5 separate regions of the Homo sapiens genome follow, and all the other regions are linked to region 5. The links are contacts of gene promoters, found by promoter capture Hi-C in blood cells and fetal thymus (Javierre and others, 2016). All regions are on one chromosome and are shown on one strand. The core of a region is centred on a gene start or on the middle of the fragment in contact, and the rest is flanking DNA. Distances in the headings are between cores, read along the strand shown. Region 1 overlaps MEAK7 (MTOR associated protein MEAK7). Region 2 overlaps COTL1 (coactosin like F-actin binding protein 1). Region 3 holds the start of LOC105371372 (a long non-coding RNA gene). Region 4 holds the start of ATP2C2-AS1 (ATP2C2 antisense RNA 1). Region 5 holds the start of ADAD2 (adenosine deaminase domain containing 2).

Region 1 (2,700 bases), core at 64-2,563, 310 kb after region 5:
AAGGCTTGGACGCAGAGCCAGGCTGGCAACGCCACTTTTTCAAGCAGGAGAGAGGAGGTTGCATGGGAGGCCCCAGTAGGAACCCCAGGGCTGGTGCCAGTGAGGTGGGAAGGTGGGCAGCCCCTAAGAACACAGCGCTGTCCACAGCACTGCCATTCTTAGTACCTGCAGAGTGCTGGTGAAGGGACACGTCTCAGAACGGCTCAAGGACAGCCCGTCTCCTTTGAGAGCCCCGTGCCAGGCAAGATAAAGAAATGGCAATGGTGTGGTGGCTCACGCCTGTAATCCCAGCACTTTGGGAGGCCGAGGCGGGTGGATCTCCTGAGGTCGGGAGTTCGAGACTAGCTGGACCAACATGGAGAAACCCTGTCTCTACTAAAAATACAAAATTAACCGGGTGTGGTGGTGCATGCCTGTAATCCCAGCTACTTGAGAGGCTGAGGCAGGAGAATTGCTTGAACCCAGGGGGCGGAGGTTGCAATGAGCCAAGATCATGCCATTGCACTCCAGCCTGGGCAACAAGAGTGAAACTCGGTCTCAAAAAAAAAAAAGACAATGCACGCTGGTGCTGGTGCTGACAGCGCACATCAAGGTTGCTTGTACCAGTGGAGCTCGACTGGAGCAGTTTCGTCCCCCAGGGGCATTTGGCAATGACTGGAAAAGTGTGTGGTTGCCACAACTGGGGGAGGGGAGTGCCGTTGGCATCTAGCAGGCAGAGGCCAGGGATACTGCTAAAAATCCTACAGTGCACAGGATGGCCTTACGACGAGGAAGTGTCCGTCCCAGACATCGGTAGGGCTGAAGGTGAGAAAACCTGGCTTCTGAGGATGTAGGGCAGCGGAACAAAATGGAAGCGGAACTTGATACAAGGGAACCCACAGAAGTCTCGAGGCCAATGTAGGGTTGTGTTATGCACAGCTTTGCAGAGAAGAGGCCACCCCATGTACCCAGGTGTACTGTGAAAGTCCCATGACACCGAGAAAACTTGCCAGGGACTGAAAGCTTTCCATCATCAAGCCTATAATCCCAGAACTTTGGGAGGATCATTTGAGGCCAGGAGTTTGAGACCAGCCTGGGCAACATAGTGAGACTTCGTCTCTGCCAAAAATACAAACCTCAGCCGGGTGTGGTGGCGTGTGACTATAGTTCCAGCTATTCAGGAGGCTGAGGTGGGAAGATCGCTTGAACCAGGAGGCAGAGGTCGCAGTGAGCCAAGATCACAACAGTGCACTCCAGCCTGGGTGACAGAGCAAGACTCTGTCTCATAAAAACACAAACAAAAGTTCCAGCAGCCCATAATAAGTGACCAAGATGTTTTGCTTGACCAGACTTTAGTCAGGCTCCTGGGCCCATCTGTGTACCTCTTTGTAAAATCTGGTTTTAGCAAAACAAAAAACAAACAAACAAAAAAACCCACAAAACCACTCATCCTTGATATTTGATCACCATTATCTGTTCACTTGCTATCTAACCAGGTTTAATGCTTAGGTTAGGGATATCCAATCTTTCAGTTTCCCTGGGCCACACTGGAAGAACTGTCTTGGGCCACACATAAAACCCACTAACAATAACTGATAAGTGCATATATCTACATATATGGTAAAAAAAAAATCTCATGTTTTAAGAAAGCTTATGAATTTGTGTTGGATGTCATTCAAAGCCGCCTTAGGCCACATATGGCCCACGGGTTGGACGAGCTTGCCCTAGGTGATGTCTGATCACCCTGGCCTGCCTTCAGTAACAAACTGCTAGGTAAGCTTACCCAGAATCCACCCTAGCGCCCTGATGTTTCCTCAGTCATCTTCCATCCACTGATCCCCACCCTGCTTCCTGGCTTCCCACTTGCCCATGCTATAATCAGAGTTGAGCCCAATCTCTCTCCTTTACTACAAAATCCCATTGCTGTGGTCCCTATACCCATTGCAATGGTCTTCAATAATTAATGTGCTTTTAATAAGCATCATTAATTAATTTCTTTAACATAAGGTTGAGAAGATTAAATAAGGTAACCCAGGGCATTTGATCTGCTTACTGGAGGTCAGAGACAGAATAATGGGCCCAAGACAACAGAGAATGGCTCCTTGGGATCTTGTCTTAGAACAAGAGAAACTGCCCTGCTTGGAAGAAACGGAAGGTTGCTCTGCCTCCGTGATGGAGGGGTGGACAGGGACCGATTGTCTGCAGGATGGCCCCCAAGGTTCCCACTAGTATCCTAGGAATGGCTTAGTCACCTCCTGCTCAGAGCTTCTCCAACAGGCTGTTACATGGCTGCTTCCCACCCTGGCTGCCAAGCTCCAACTCTCTACTCCAAGGGCCCCGCATCCCTAGAGCCACACAAGGGTCCCTCCGTACCCCCACAAGCTGGGGAGATTCCAACTGCCTCATCTGGACAGGCTTCGAAGTCCTGTCTGTGTCTCAGAGCCCAGAGGCCCTTGTGCGAAGGGGCAGCTTGAGCCTGGGCAAGAAGTTCCTGTGGGCCAGAAGGTGACCTGTCCTGTGCTGGCCACCTACATGGCCTGGGAACAGTTATCAGCTCACTGTCCTGGAAAAGCCCAGATGGGTGTGGTCAGAATACAAGAAGGAAAACCCCCTCCACACACACTTCAGTGTCTACCCCAGACTCGCCTCCTCCGTGGAGGCACCCCTCCCTTTCCGCGTCTACACAGGCTCTGAATCCCCCTTCAACACGGCTGGCCTTGG
Region 2 (2,700 bases), core at 16-2,515, 420 kb after region 5:
AGTAGAGCTGAAATTTGAACCCAGGCATTACGGGTTCTCTTCTATAAGCAAGAGACAAAGGAGTGGACAGCCAGCACGTGCTGGGAAAAGCCTATGACCCAGGATTCAGCCCATGACTTGGGCCCACTCAAGGGAGCAACACACCCATGGGGGAAAGAGATTGGCAGCCATCTAACCATGAAGGATGGGGATTCCCCGCCAAGGATACCACCACCAAAGGGACAAAGTCCCTCTCTCCAGGAGGACTTCGCCAAGGAGTTGAAGAAACAGACATGCACACGACCACCATACGGGACACCAACACCACAAAGACAAGGAGGGCATCCGAGCAGAGGGAACATTCACACCGGGCCTTGACGGGTGTGTAGGAGTCCTCCAGGAAGGCGAAACAGATGAAGACAGTGCAGGCAGAGGGAAGAGAGTCCACAGGCCTAGGGAAGCGGGAAGGCAGGCCAGCGCGGCACAGGGGAAGAGCTGAGAGCCTCGGACACAGATCTGGATTCAAAGTGCAGTTCTTCCCAACTGCAGCATCTCCAGCAAGCGACTCTGGCTCTCCAAGGAAAATGTCAGGTTCCTCCTCAGTGAAGTGGGGATAATTTCTACTTGTGGGTGTCACTCTGCTCATTACTCCCTCAGAGAGAAGATAAATTAGATAAACTAACACACGCAGAGCTCCTACGTAGGGCCTGGGACTTGGGCATCCCTAAGGTCAGCATCGTGTGTGTTGGGGACACACACTGGAGGGGTCGGCTGGCCAGCACCTGTCATAAAGGGCACCCCATGTCATGTCTGAGCGTTTGGACCTTATGGAGAAAAGGTGTTGGAAGTGGGAGGCGGGGGAGCAATCTGACCTGAAGGTTAGAAAGCCACCCCTAGCCTGGACTGCAAGCTCACTGGGGTCAGGGAAAGGACTCAACTCAGTACTTGGCAAAGGGCTTGGGGCATAGTAGATGCTCGAGAAATGTCCCGGAGAAGACAAGGTCATGATCAAGGGTGGAGCCCTAAGAAACGCCTAGACTTATCGGGCAGGAAGCAGAAGCAGCAGCAGAAGGAAGTGAGAATGACAGGAGAGAGACATAAAAGGAGAACTAGGCAAGTCTAGCCACGCAGAAGCAGAAGCACAAGCGAGGGGGACTATCTTTTCAGGAGGTGCTGGCCACTGGCAAATGCTGGAGGGAGGTAAAGTGGATCAGAGACAAAGAAATGACCACTAAATCTGGCAACTGGAATATTTACCAAAGACCTAGACATAGAGCTCCATGCTCTGGGTGTGGGTGGGCACCAGAATGAAATGGGGTAAAGAAAGGATGGGAGACAAGGAGGTATTTATAACACCTATAAAATCTGTAAGGGATGCTTTCAAAAAGTTTGCATTAACTTCTGAATATTTTCAAGGGACAAAAACCCAATTCACCTAGTGTTTAGGGAATGCTTTTTTTGAACTTGAGACACTGTACTTACCAGGAAGATACACATCTATCATCCTTCATCATTTTCTGTTTGTGGTGACACAGCCACAAACAGAAAAGAAAGCACAAACATCACCATGCAGTAGACTGAAAGAGCTACCACAAAGCCCACGCCCCTGTGGACACACAAAAAAGCTATGCAGCGTGGCTCAGGGCCTCCCAGCAACAGATCTGTGGGCAAAGAAGGCAATGGGAGACTGGATAGTGCAGAAAATTACAAAGGTAATGTTTTCGCAGCCCTTCAGGGTACCACTTAAAAACAAAAACCCAGCCGGGCGGGGTGGCTCACGCCTGTAATTCCAACACTTTGAGAGGCCAAGGCAAGTGGATCGCTTGAGCCCAGGAGTTCGAGACCTGCCTGGACAACATAGTGAAACCCTGTCTCTACAAAAGATACAAAAATGAGCCAGGCGTGGTAGCAGGCGCCTGTAGTCCCTGCTACTGGAGACGCTGAGGTAGGAGAATCGCCTGAGCTGGGAGGCAGAGGTTGCAGTGAGCCAAGATCGTGCCACTGCACTCCAGACTGGGTGACAGGGCACGACCTTGTCTCAAAAATTAAATTAAATTAAAAACCCAACATTGTTTCTGGAGCAAAGTAGGAACCCAATAAAATGTTTGTCGCATGCATTAACGGACAGACTGTTCAGCACTTTATAACTGCCCAAAGCCCTGTCACAGATTTGGAGCTTCTTTTTGATGTCACATTCCCTTAGACCTTAGGAAAGAAAGCAATTTCTCTCCTTCCCTTCTCGCCCAAATTTCTGAAACCCGGGTGTGTATGTTCAGCTAGGGAAAAAATATTCAGGTGCAAAACAGCACGATAAATAGACTGCCGGCTCTCTGTGTGTTGTATTGCCATATACGCAGAGGTCATGGACAGCAAGTGAATTTGACTCCTTCGCATTCCAGCTCCCTTCTTTTGGTCGCTATACTCCAGTTTTCCGTAGGAACCACCTCTCTGCCACTCTCAGTCTCTGTCATCCAGGTAGGGCTGATGCCACCTCCAAGAGGCATCCCCTAGGCCTGCACTAAGGCCAGTCAGTCTTCCTGGAGGCATAGCAGGCCAGAAAATGGGGCTGTGAGACAGGAGAGTGCAGAGGCAAGGAAGGCCTCCTTCAATCCTTTCTTCAACATCTATGCCAAGTGGTTAGTCGGACTCTCCTGACATACCTCCTGTGATGGGGGCCTCACTTTCTCCTCTGGTAGCCCGTTCTACCTTAAGGGCCTCTTC
Region 3 (2,700 bases), core at 154-2,653, 260 kb before region 5:
AACACTGTCTGCGTCTCCCGCTTGACAACTTGGAAACAAAAGGCCACTTCATCTAAATGCTGTAAAGGCAGGTAGGTTGTGCATCACCAACAGAGACAGACATTGCACTGGAGTAGAGGCAGGGTCTGAGAGGTGGAAGAGCTGAGGTGAGACAAGAGGTGCAGTCATTGAATTGTCTGGTCCTTCCTCTCTGATAGCAGGAGTCCAAGAGCCTCTTGCCTGACAAAGTCCAGCTTGCCATGGTGCAGGTGTAATTTATGAATCTCACTCGACTGCATTCAGTTACTCATCCAGACGGTGCCAGCCCATCCATACGATGCACAGTCATCTCTGACATCTTGCTGACCCTTAGGCACATAAAAACATAGCTGTACCCAGTTTTTTTCCAACTGTATTGTTAGACAGGACAGAGGCTAGAAAATATTTTATTAGGACCCAGAGATGGGTCCTGAGCCTGGCATCGTCACTTATGAGCTGTGTGGCCATTACTAAATTTACAATAAGTAAATGTGTCCATTTTGGCTGGGCGTGGTGGCTCATGCCTTAATCCCAGCACTTTGGGAGGCCAAAGCAGGAGGATCACTTGAGCCCAGGAGCTGGAGACCAGCCTGGGCAACATAACGAGACCCCCATCTCTACGAAAAATAAAAATAATATTAGCTAGATGTGGCAGTGAGCACCTGTAGTCCCAGCTACTTGGGAGGCTGAAGTGGGAGGATTGCTTGGGTCCAGGTGGTCGAGTCGACAGTGAGCTATGATCGTGCCACTGCACTCCAGCCTGGGTGACAGAATGAGACCCTGTCTCAAAAAAATAAGTAAATGTATTCATTTTAATGTATAAAAACAATGTAAACCAGTAAAATTAATTTTTTATGTAAAATTTTTCATCTTGGCCTTCAAATGAGGTGTTTGTTGTTAAAACGCTTCTGTGGTCATTTGGTAAACAGAGTTTGAAACTTGAGCAAGACGATTAGCAGGCTCTGCCGAACTGCGCTGCTGACGCTGCAGGCTGAGCTGCCTCCTCCCTGGCCCTCATGTTCATTCTCAGGTCGGCTGTCAGTGGCTGCTTGCAGTGGTGACAATGCTGCTGGGTGCTGCTGGCTGCAGGCACCTCTTGGAATGAGCTGTGATTTTTGTGTCTCCTTTTGCAGCTCCGACTGGAAAGCCTGCATCAACACAGAAGGACACTTGCTCCTTCTGATCTGCAAAGGCCCAGGTGCCCACAGGCCTGGCCCCGGGGCTGTTCCCACAGCTGGCATGGACGACCCTCTGAACATTTCTGATGTCATCTGCCTTATCTTCCTAGGGTCTGTGCTGTCCTTAAGCAGCAGCGCTATTCACCCTGGGATCTGGGGCAAAGTGCCGGTGTCCACATGAGGAGGGGTAGGAGGTGTCCCTGGGGGTGGGGAAGCAGTGCTGGGTGGACATCGCTGCCCAGAGGAAGCGGTGGACAGACGGGTGTGCATTTCTCCTCCCTCGCAGCGGCTGCCCATGCAAGGGCAGCTCTTAGGAGAATAACCACGGGCAGACAATGAATTATGGGCAGAAATATGGTGGTGAGGGGGTCTCACCCCTCAAGGAGGGTCCCACCCAGAGCTCCCCACAAGGCCAGCAGCCTCCTGAGCCTCATTCTCCTGGTGGAAGGCTCCGAGCTGACCAAGCCCTGACCTGATTCTGAATGTGTCGAGCGGTGGAGGAGTGTCAGTCCAGCAGGGGAGTTCCACGGAGAATTTCCTCCCTTACGGGAAATGGGATGGAGGCAGGACAAGTAGAAACCTCTGTCCCCACAGCCAGCAGGGCCGCCTGGGAGGAGGCACAGGGAGGGTACCGAGGTTGGTAGAAACCTCCATCCCCAGGGCTCCCACATCCTCACAGCCAGCAGGGCCACCTGGGAGGAGGCACAGGGAGGGCACCGAGGTTGGTAGAAACCTCCATCCCCAGGGCTCCCACATCCTCACAGCCAGCAGGGCTGCCTGGGAGGAGGCACCGGGTGGGCACCGAGGTTGGTCTGGGTTTGAGCCCTGCGCCAGCACCTGCTTGCGTGTGACCGTGGGAAAGGCACATCCTTCAGCAGTTGTTTACTGAGCACCTACCGTGTGCAGGGCCCTGTGTACCCATCATCACAGCAACCCAACCTGCCCCTTGGGCACACCTTGGCAAGATGTGCCCCTTTTCCAGGTGCTATCACCGAGGCTGCAGTTGCTCCGGAGGAGCTGCAGCAGAGGACGGGAGCGGGGCCGGCTGGGCCCTCAGGCAGAGCCACCCTGAGGCTGCCCACCACTGACCGGGCACCCCAGCAAGCCCAGGGCAGGACTTTGTGATGCGACAAACGGCCCAGCCTGGCCTCTTGTCCCCCAGCTCCCCTGTTACCACGTCGGGGGGGTGTCCCCTGGGGGAGGGCCAACCCCAGTGTGTCCACTCCTCCCCGGCCAAACTGGTCACCTCTGTCACCTCTGCTGCACCCGGCCCCTTCGTTGTCAGGTAAGGAGGGCCTGGAGCAGGGAGGGGCAGGGGCTGCTCCAGGAAGGGGTGAGGTGTGCTGGGGGGCCTGGTAGGGCCAGGCAGGAGGAGGGGCTCCTGGGCGGTGGCCCTGGAGGCAGGAGGCTCAGCTTGTGGACTCTGGGGTGCAGGTGGCCTGGGTGGGAACCTGGTGCTGTTGCTTGCCCGTCGTGTGATCTTGGGACAGTGCCATAACCTGTG
Region 4 (2,700 bases), core at 82-2,581, 280 kb after region 5:
TGTAATAAAAACTCTCAAACTAGGAATTGAAGGAAACTTCTTCAACCTGATAAAGAACATCTACAAAAAACCTATAGCTAACATCATACTTAATGATGAAAAACTGAATTCTTTCCCCACAGGATAAGGTCCAAGGGTGACCAGCCTCACCACTCCTATTCAGCACAGTATTAGAAGTCCTAGCCAGTGTAATATGGCAAGAAAAGTTAAAAGGCATTAGCAAAGAGCCTGGAAAGGAGAAAATCACAGATAACGTAATTGTCCACACAGAAAATCCCAACAAATCTTTTTAAAAAAGAAAAACCCTCGTAGAATCAACGAGTTTAGTAAAGCCACAAGATACAAGGTTAACACACAAAAAGCAGTCGTATTTCTATATATTAGCAATGAACAACTGGAAACTGAAATTTAAAATTGAATACTATTTGTCTGTCTCAAAAAAAAGTATCAATTCTCCCGAGATTGTTGTATTAGGTTTAACACAATTACCATCAAAATCCCAGGGTTTTTTTGTTTTTGTTTTTTTTTAAGACACAGATAAACTTGTTCTAACAAGCTTGGTATGATATTGTTATCAGCAGACCTATTTCAATTTCACTGGTTTTTACATAGTATCTGATGTTAGGCAAACCTGAGTTTAAGGGCACAGTGCTCCAGGTGGCTGGCCAAGTCTGCCCAGGCCTTCTGATACTGACTGCAGGTCCAAGAGTTTCCCACAACCACCTTCAGGTTGGATGATTCGTTGATGAGGCACACAGAGCTCACTGACACCTGTCATGCTCACAGCCATGTCTATTACCAGGAAAAGATACAGATTAGAACAGCCCCAGGGCTGCAACTGCAGAGACTGGTCACCCTCTCCCTCTGAGCTCAACAGTTTCTGAGTCCTGAGTCTTTCTAGCCAATCACTGGGTCTGAGAGTGGTTTCCTGCCCCCCACAACACAAGTTCTATGAAATTGTATGACACACATCAATTCAGGTAACCACTGCTACAATGAGGAGGCAAAACTTCCATCGCCCCTGAAAAACTCCTCCTTACTTTTTATAGTAACACCCTCCTAATCCCAGCAACCTCTAATCCCTTCTTCATCACCATAATGTTGTTCCTTCAATACTGTTACATAAATGGAATCATGGTATAGAACCTTTTAAGACTGGCTTTTGTCACTAAGCATAATACCTGTAAGGTCCCTTCAAGTTGTTTTATGTGTGTTCTTCTTCATGGCTGACTAGTATTCCACTGCATGGATGTACCACAATTTCTTTATCCACTCACTCATGGAGTGACAGAAACTCCTGTACAATTTTTGGAAGTCTATATGAATCTAAAATTATTTCAAAGTGTGTAAGAAGATAAGATATACTCATAGGGCAAAAATACACCAGGTAAAGACAAACAACACACAAGACCAAGGTGACACAGTCTAATCAGACAAGATTAAAAGAAAGGCCAAAAGCATTAAAGGAGACCAAGAAGGAAATTTAACAAGATATAATCACCACTGAAAAATCCATAGGCCAGACTATGTACCAACACAACATTCAAATTTAAAGAGGAAACAGTATGGGAAATTCAGGCAAAGGATACAGAAAATTCATTATATTAACTTACCACATGAAAGGACACAAAACCTCAGTGATTCCAAAGAGTAGATCTAATATAGATGACTTCTTGGTCGGGCATGGTGGCTCAGACCTGTAATCCCAGAACTTTGGGAGGCCGAGGCGGTTGGATCACTTGAGGTAAGGAGTTTGAGACCAGCCTGGGCAACATAGCGAAACCCCATCTCTACTAAAAATACAAAAATTAGCTGGGCATGGTGGTGGGCGCCTGTAATCCCAGGCTACTCGGGAGGCTGAGGCAGGAGAATCGCTTGAACCTGGGAGGCAGAGGTAGCAGTGAGCTGAGATCACACCATGGCACTCCAGCCTGGGCAATGAAGTGAGGCTCTGTCTTAAAAAAATAATAATACAGATGACATCTCTAATCACTATGCAATCTAATTTAAAGACGAGTGACAGGACTAGGGGAAATTCTCTAGCACAGCAAAATTTAAAAACTCTTGGGTACAAGAGAAAATCAAAATGAAGGCCACAGAAAATCTAGAAGCTTATGATCAACACACACCTATCTATACAATACTGCAAAATAACTCAGGGCCCAAGAAAAAAGTAATAGCTTTATGTATTCATCTACTTCCATTATTTTTTATTTAGTAAAATAACTCAAAAAACTGAAAAAAAAAAACTGAAGAAAAGCAGGAATAATATAAAAGCAAAATTAGTAACTGAATCCAATCTAGGAAAATGAAAACACAAGAAAAGGAAAAAAAACATAACTACAAAAGAGTTTCAATACTTTGGGGTCAATATTACATAAAGTAATTTGAAGACTTCCAGCAGAGATTTAAAACAATCCAATGGTAAAAGAAATGGATAAGGTTGTCAAGAGTTAATCCCATCCTCACCTACATCATCAGAAGCAGGAATGCAGACCTGCAATATGCATTTTAAGAAGCTCTCTAGGCAAATCTGATGCATGCTCAAGCGGGGAGAACTACTGGATAAAAGAGGTCAGTAAGAGGCCTGGAACGGTGGTTCATGCCTGGAATCCCAGCACTTTGGGAGGCTGTGGTGGGTGGATTGCTTGAGCTCAGGGGTTTGAGACCAACCTGGGCAACATGGCGAAACCACCTCTA
Region 5 (2,700 bases), core at 21-2,520:
GTGCAGCCCTCAGTCCATTTCTGGACATCTGCTGTGCTGTCCCTTCACTCTCCTGGGCCTCATCCCACTCTCTGGGCTGCACACACACACAAAATGGAATTGTTCTTCCTGATGTCAATTCTTGACATGTTGGGGAGGCTGACTACCCAGCCCACCACACCTGCTTCTTCCAAGTCAAAGGTTCTGGGAGGACTCCACCACCTGGTCCTCATATGCCCCAGCATCCTCACTGTCACAATCCTGGAGAGAGCTGCCAGGCCCAGCTTCAGCAGCAGCAGCAGCAAGCACTGTGACAAATCTTACAGACACTGGTCATGCTTTCCCAAGTTAGTGGCTACTGTAAGACTCCGTTAAACTTGCAGCCTCCTTCAAGCAAATACGCGTTGCATCACAGTAAGCCTTGTGTAAATTGTCTTCATCCCTGTCTTTATCTTATTTTTCCTATGTCTCTTGATCTCTAGCTCTTCACTTTAAACAATTGTTATCTTGTCTTATTTGTATGAATTAACTCAAAATCCCTTCTTAGGGGGGAAAAAGGCAGAGTATCAAATGGCTATTTTCTTAAAAAAAATTATTTATTTATTTTTTGAGGCAGAGTCTCGCTCTGTTGCCCAGGCTGGAGTGCAGTGGCGCAATCTCAGTTCACTGCAGCCTCTTCCTCCCAGGTTCAAGCGATTCTCCTGCCTCAGCCTCCTGAGTAGCTGGGACTACAGGTGTGCGCCACCACGCCCACCTACATTTTGCATCAAATGGCTAATTCTTGGCTGGGGAACACTTATGTTTGGCTTCAGAAAGGCCTGCAGTGAAATTTTATATCCAATGATCCTGCTGACAGTGTGAACCCCTAATTCCTGTGTTGAAGTCTCCAGGCTCAGCCAGTGAAGCAGCTGAGCAGCCTGTGATGTGGAGGTGCCTAGGGGCCTAGGGCAGGAGCTAGAGTGTGAAACTGGACCTGACGCCCCCAGATGCTCCTCCCCCGCCTTGCAGGCTCCGCGACCACCCACGGTTAAAGAAGCAGCTGCTAGAGCAACCCCTCACCCACCCACCGGAACTTCCCTCCAGGCCATGGGACGTTGGTCTCAGCCGGAACTTCCGTCCAGGCAGTGGGACCTTGGCCTCAGCCATAAGCATCCAAGCCGCCGTCGTTGGGAGACTGGCCTTCCCATTGGCAGGGTGCACTGTCCATCACAGATCTCAGGGCTCTCATTGGCCATCGTATGGCAGGGGTGGAGCTCACCACGCTTCGTCCGCGTGCTCCCCACGTGAAGGCACCCGCCCTGCGCGTGTGAAAGGGCGAGAGCAGCGCGAGATAGGGCCTAGCGCCTCAGATCTTCGTTGGCGGCCATGGCTTCGGCTTCTCAGGGCGCTGACGACGACGGCAGTCGTAGGAAGCCCCGCCTGGCTGCATCGTTGCAGATCAGCCCCCAGCCCCGCCCCTGGCGACCGCTACCCGCCCAGGCCCAAAGTGCCTGGGGGCCCGCGCCCGCGCCCGCGACGTATCGCGCGGAGGGCGGGTGGCCCCAGGTCTCGGTGTTGAGGGACAGTGGGCCTGGGGCAGGGGCCGGAGTCGGGGAACTGGGGGCAGCCCGGGCGTGGGAAAACTTGGGGGAACAGATGGGGAAGGCCCCGAGGGTCCCTGTGCCCCCAGCAGGGCTCAGCCTGCCGCTCAAAGACCCACCTGCCAGCCAGGCCGTGTCCTTGCTCACGGAGTACGCGGCCAGCCTGGGCATCTTCCTGCTCTTCCGGGAGGACCAGCCACCAGGTGAGGCCGGGCCGGGGCATGGCTGTGCCAGAGGGCAGAGCCACGGAGGGCTGGGTCCCAGGACGTGGGGAGCAGGGGGTCTGGGGAAGGTGGACCTTGGTCCCTATGCTCAGAGACACCGCCGGAGCAGGACCTGGCCTGAGCTTGGGACCTTGGGGTGGACCCTGCTGTGAGCAGCGATCTCCAAGGATCACCAGCCACACCAGATGCTCAACTGTGAAAGAGTCATGGCAGGTGAACATTCTTCCCACCTGACTTCCAGGGAGGTTAAGGCCCCCTGGTATTTCTGTATACGTTTTTAGAGCCACTTACATGCAATTTAAGTTGCCGTGCTAGCATTGGAGATACCGAAATGGGAGCCACTCCCCTGACTTAAAAGACATTATTAAGCACAGTTTGGTAAGGGTAATACCGTGTACATGATACAGAGGTAAACCGTTATTTCCTCTTCTTCAATACATACCCCTTAAATCCCTTAACTCAGAGTGGTTGTTTTGTGTTTTGGATTTTTTTTGAGACAGGGTCTTACTCTGTTGCCCAGACTGGAATGCGGTGGAACAAGCTTGCCTCACTGCAGCGTCCGCCTCCTGGGCTCAAGTGATACTCCCGCCTCAGCCTCCCGAGGAGCTGGGACTACAGGTGGACTCCACTACACCTGGCTAATTTTTGTATTTTTTTTGTAGAGATTATGTGGTTTTACCATGTTGCCAAGATTGTTCTTGAAGTCCTGGGCTCCAGCTATCTGACCTCCTGGGCCTCCAAAGTGCTGAGATTACAGGTGTGAGCCACCACACTTGGCCCAGAGTTTTAATTTAAAAGTTAATTGCAGACATTATGCTCCTTACCTGTAAATACATTCACGTGTTTTTTGTTTGTTTGTTTGTTTGTTTTTCTTTTTTCTTTCTTTTTGAGATGGAGTTTCACTCTTGTGGCCCAGG

Evidence for each region. The method cuts DNA at HindIII sites, captures the fragments that hold promoters and counts their contacts. A CHiCAGO score of 5 or more calls a contact.
Region 1: a fragment that was not itself captured here is called in contact with the fragment with the promoter of ADAD2 in region 5 in 4 of 17 cell types (erythroblasts, megakaryocytes, endothelial precursors and 1 more); the score reaches 6.0 in erythroblasts.
Region 2: a contact is called between a fragment that was not itself captured here and the fragment with the promoter of ADAD2 in region 5, in 1 of 17 cell types (fetal thymus). The highest score is 5.9, in fetal thymus.
Region 3: a fragment that was not itself captured here is called in contact with the fragment with the promoter of ADAD2 in region 5 in 2 of 17 cell types (neutrophils and erythroblasts); the score reaches 8.2 in neutrophils.
Region 4: a fragment that was not itself captured here is called in contact with the fragment with the promoter of ADAD2 in region 5 in 2 of 17 cell types (endothelial precursors and megakaryocytes); the score reaches 7.8 in endothelial precursors.

Annotation. Positions count from the first base shown.
Region 1 is chr16:84,501,606-84,504,305 of GRCh38, forward strand. The region is part of intron 1 of MEAK7 (MTOR associated protein MEAK7); the gene reads right to left. Among named protein-coding and RNA genes, the nearest start is that of MEAK7, 1.7 kb to the right of the region's middle. RefSeq lists an enhancer at 2,464-2,700. The HindIII fragment of the contact is 627 bases long and covers 1,001-1,627 here.
Region 2 is chr16:84,606,886-84,609,585 of GRCh38, forward strand. The region is part of intron 2 of COTL1 (coactosin like F-actin binding protein 1); the gene reads right to left. Among named protein-coding and RNA genes, the nearest start is that of COTL1, 9.8 kb to the right of the region's middle. RefSeq lists an enhancer at 84-133. The HindIII fragment of the contact is 4,371 bases long and covers 1-2,700 here.
Region 3 is chr16:83,928,938-83,931,637 of GRCh38, forward strand. LOC105371372 (a long non-coding RNA gene) reads right to left here and starts at 2,272. Exons shown (of 2, transcript XR_007065147.1): 1 at 1,669-2,272; 2 at 1-1,166. The HindIII fragment of the contact is 4,069 bases long and covers 1-2,700 here.
Region 4 is chr16:84,466,673-84,469,372 of GRCh38, forward strand. ATP2C2-AS1 (ATP2C2 antisense RNA 1) reads right to left here and starts at 689. Exons shown (of 3, transcript NR_146503.1): 1 at 632-689. The HindIII fragment of the contact is 1,555 bases long and covers 555-2,109 here.
Region 5 is chr16:84,189,887-84,192,586 of GRCh38, forward strand. It overlaps ADAD2 (adenosine deaminase domain containing 2), which reads left to right and starts at 1,271. Exons shown (of 10, transcript NM_001145400.2): 1 at 1,271-1,762. The coding sequence starts at 1,345. It overlaps ADAD2-AS1 (ADAD2 antisense RNA 1), which reads right to left. Exons shown (of 5, transcript NR_147175.1): 5 at 2,672-2,700. RefSeq lists an enhancer at 1,017-1,311. The HindIII fragment of the contact is 4,803 bases long and covers 1-2,322 here.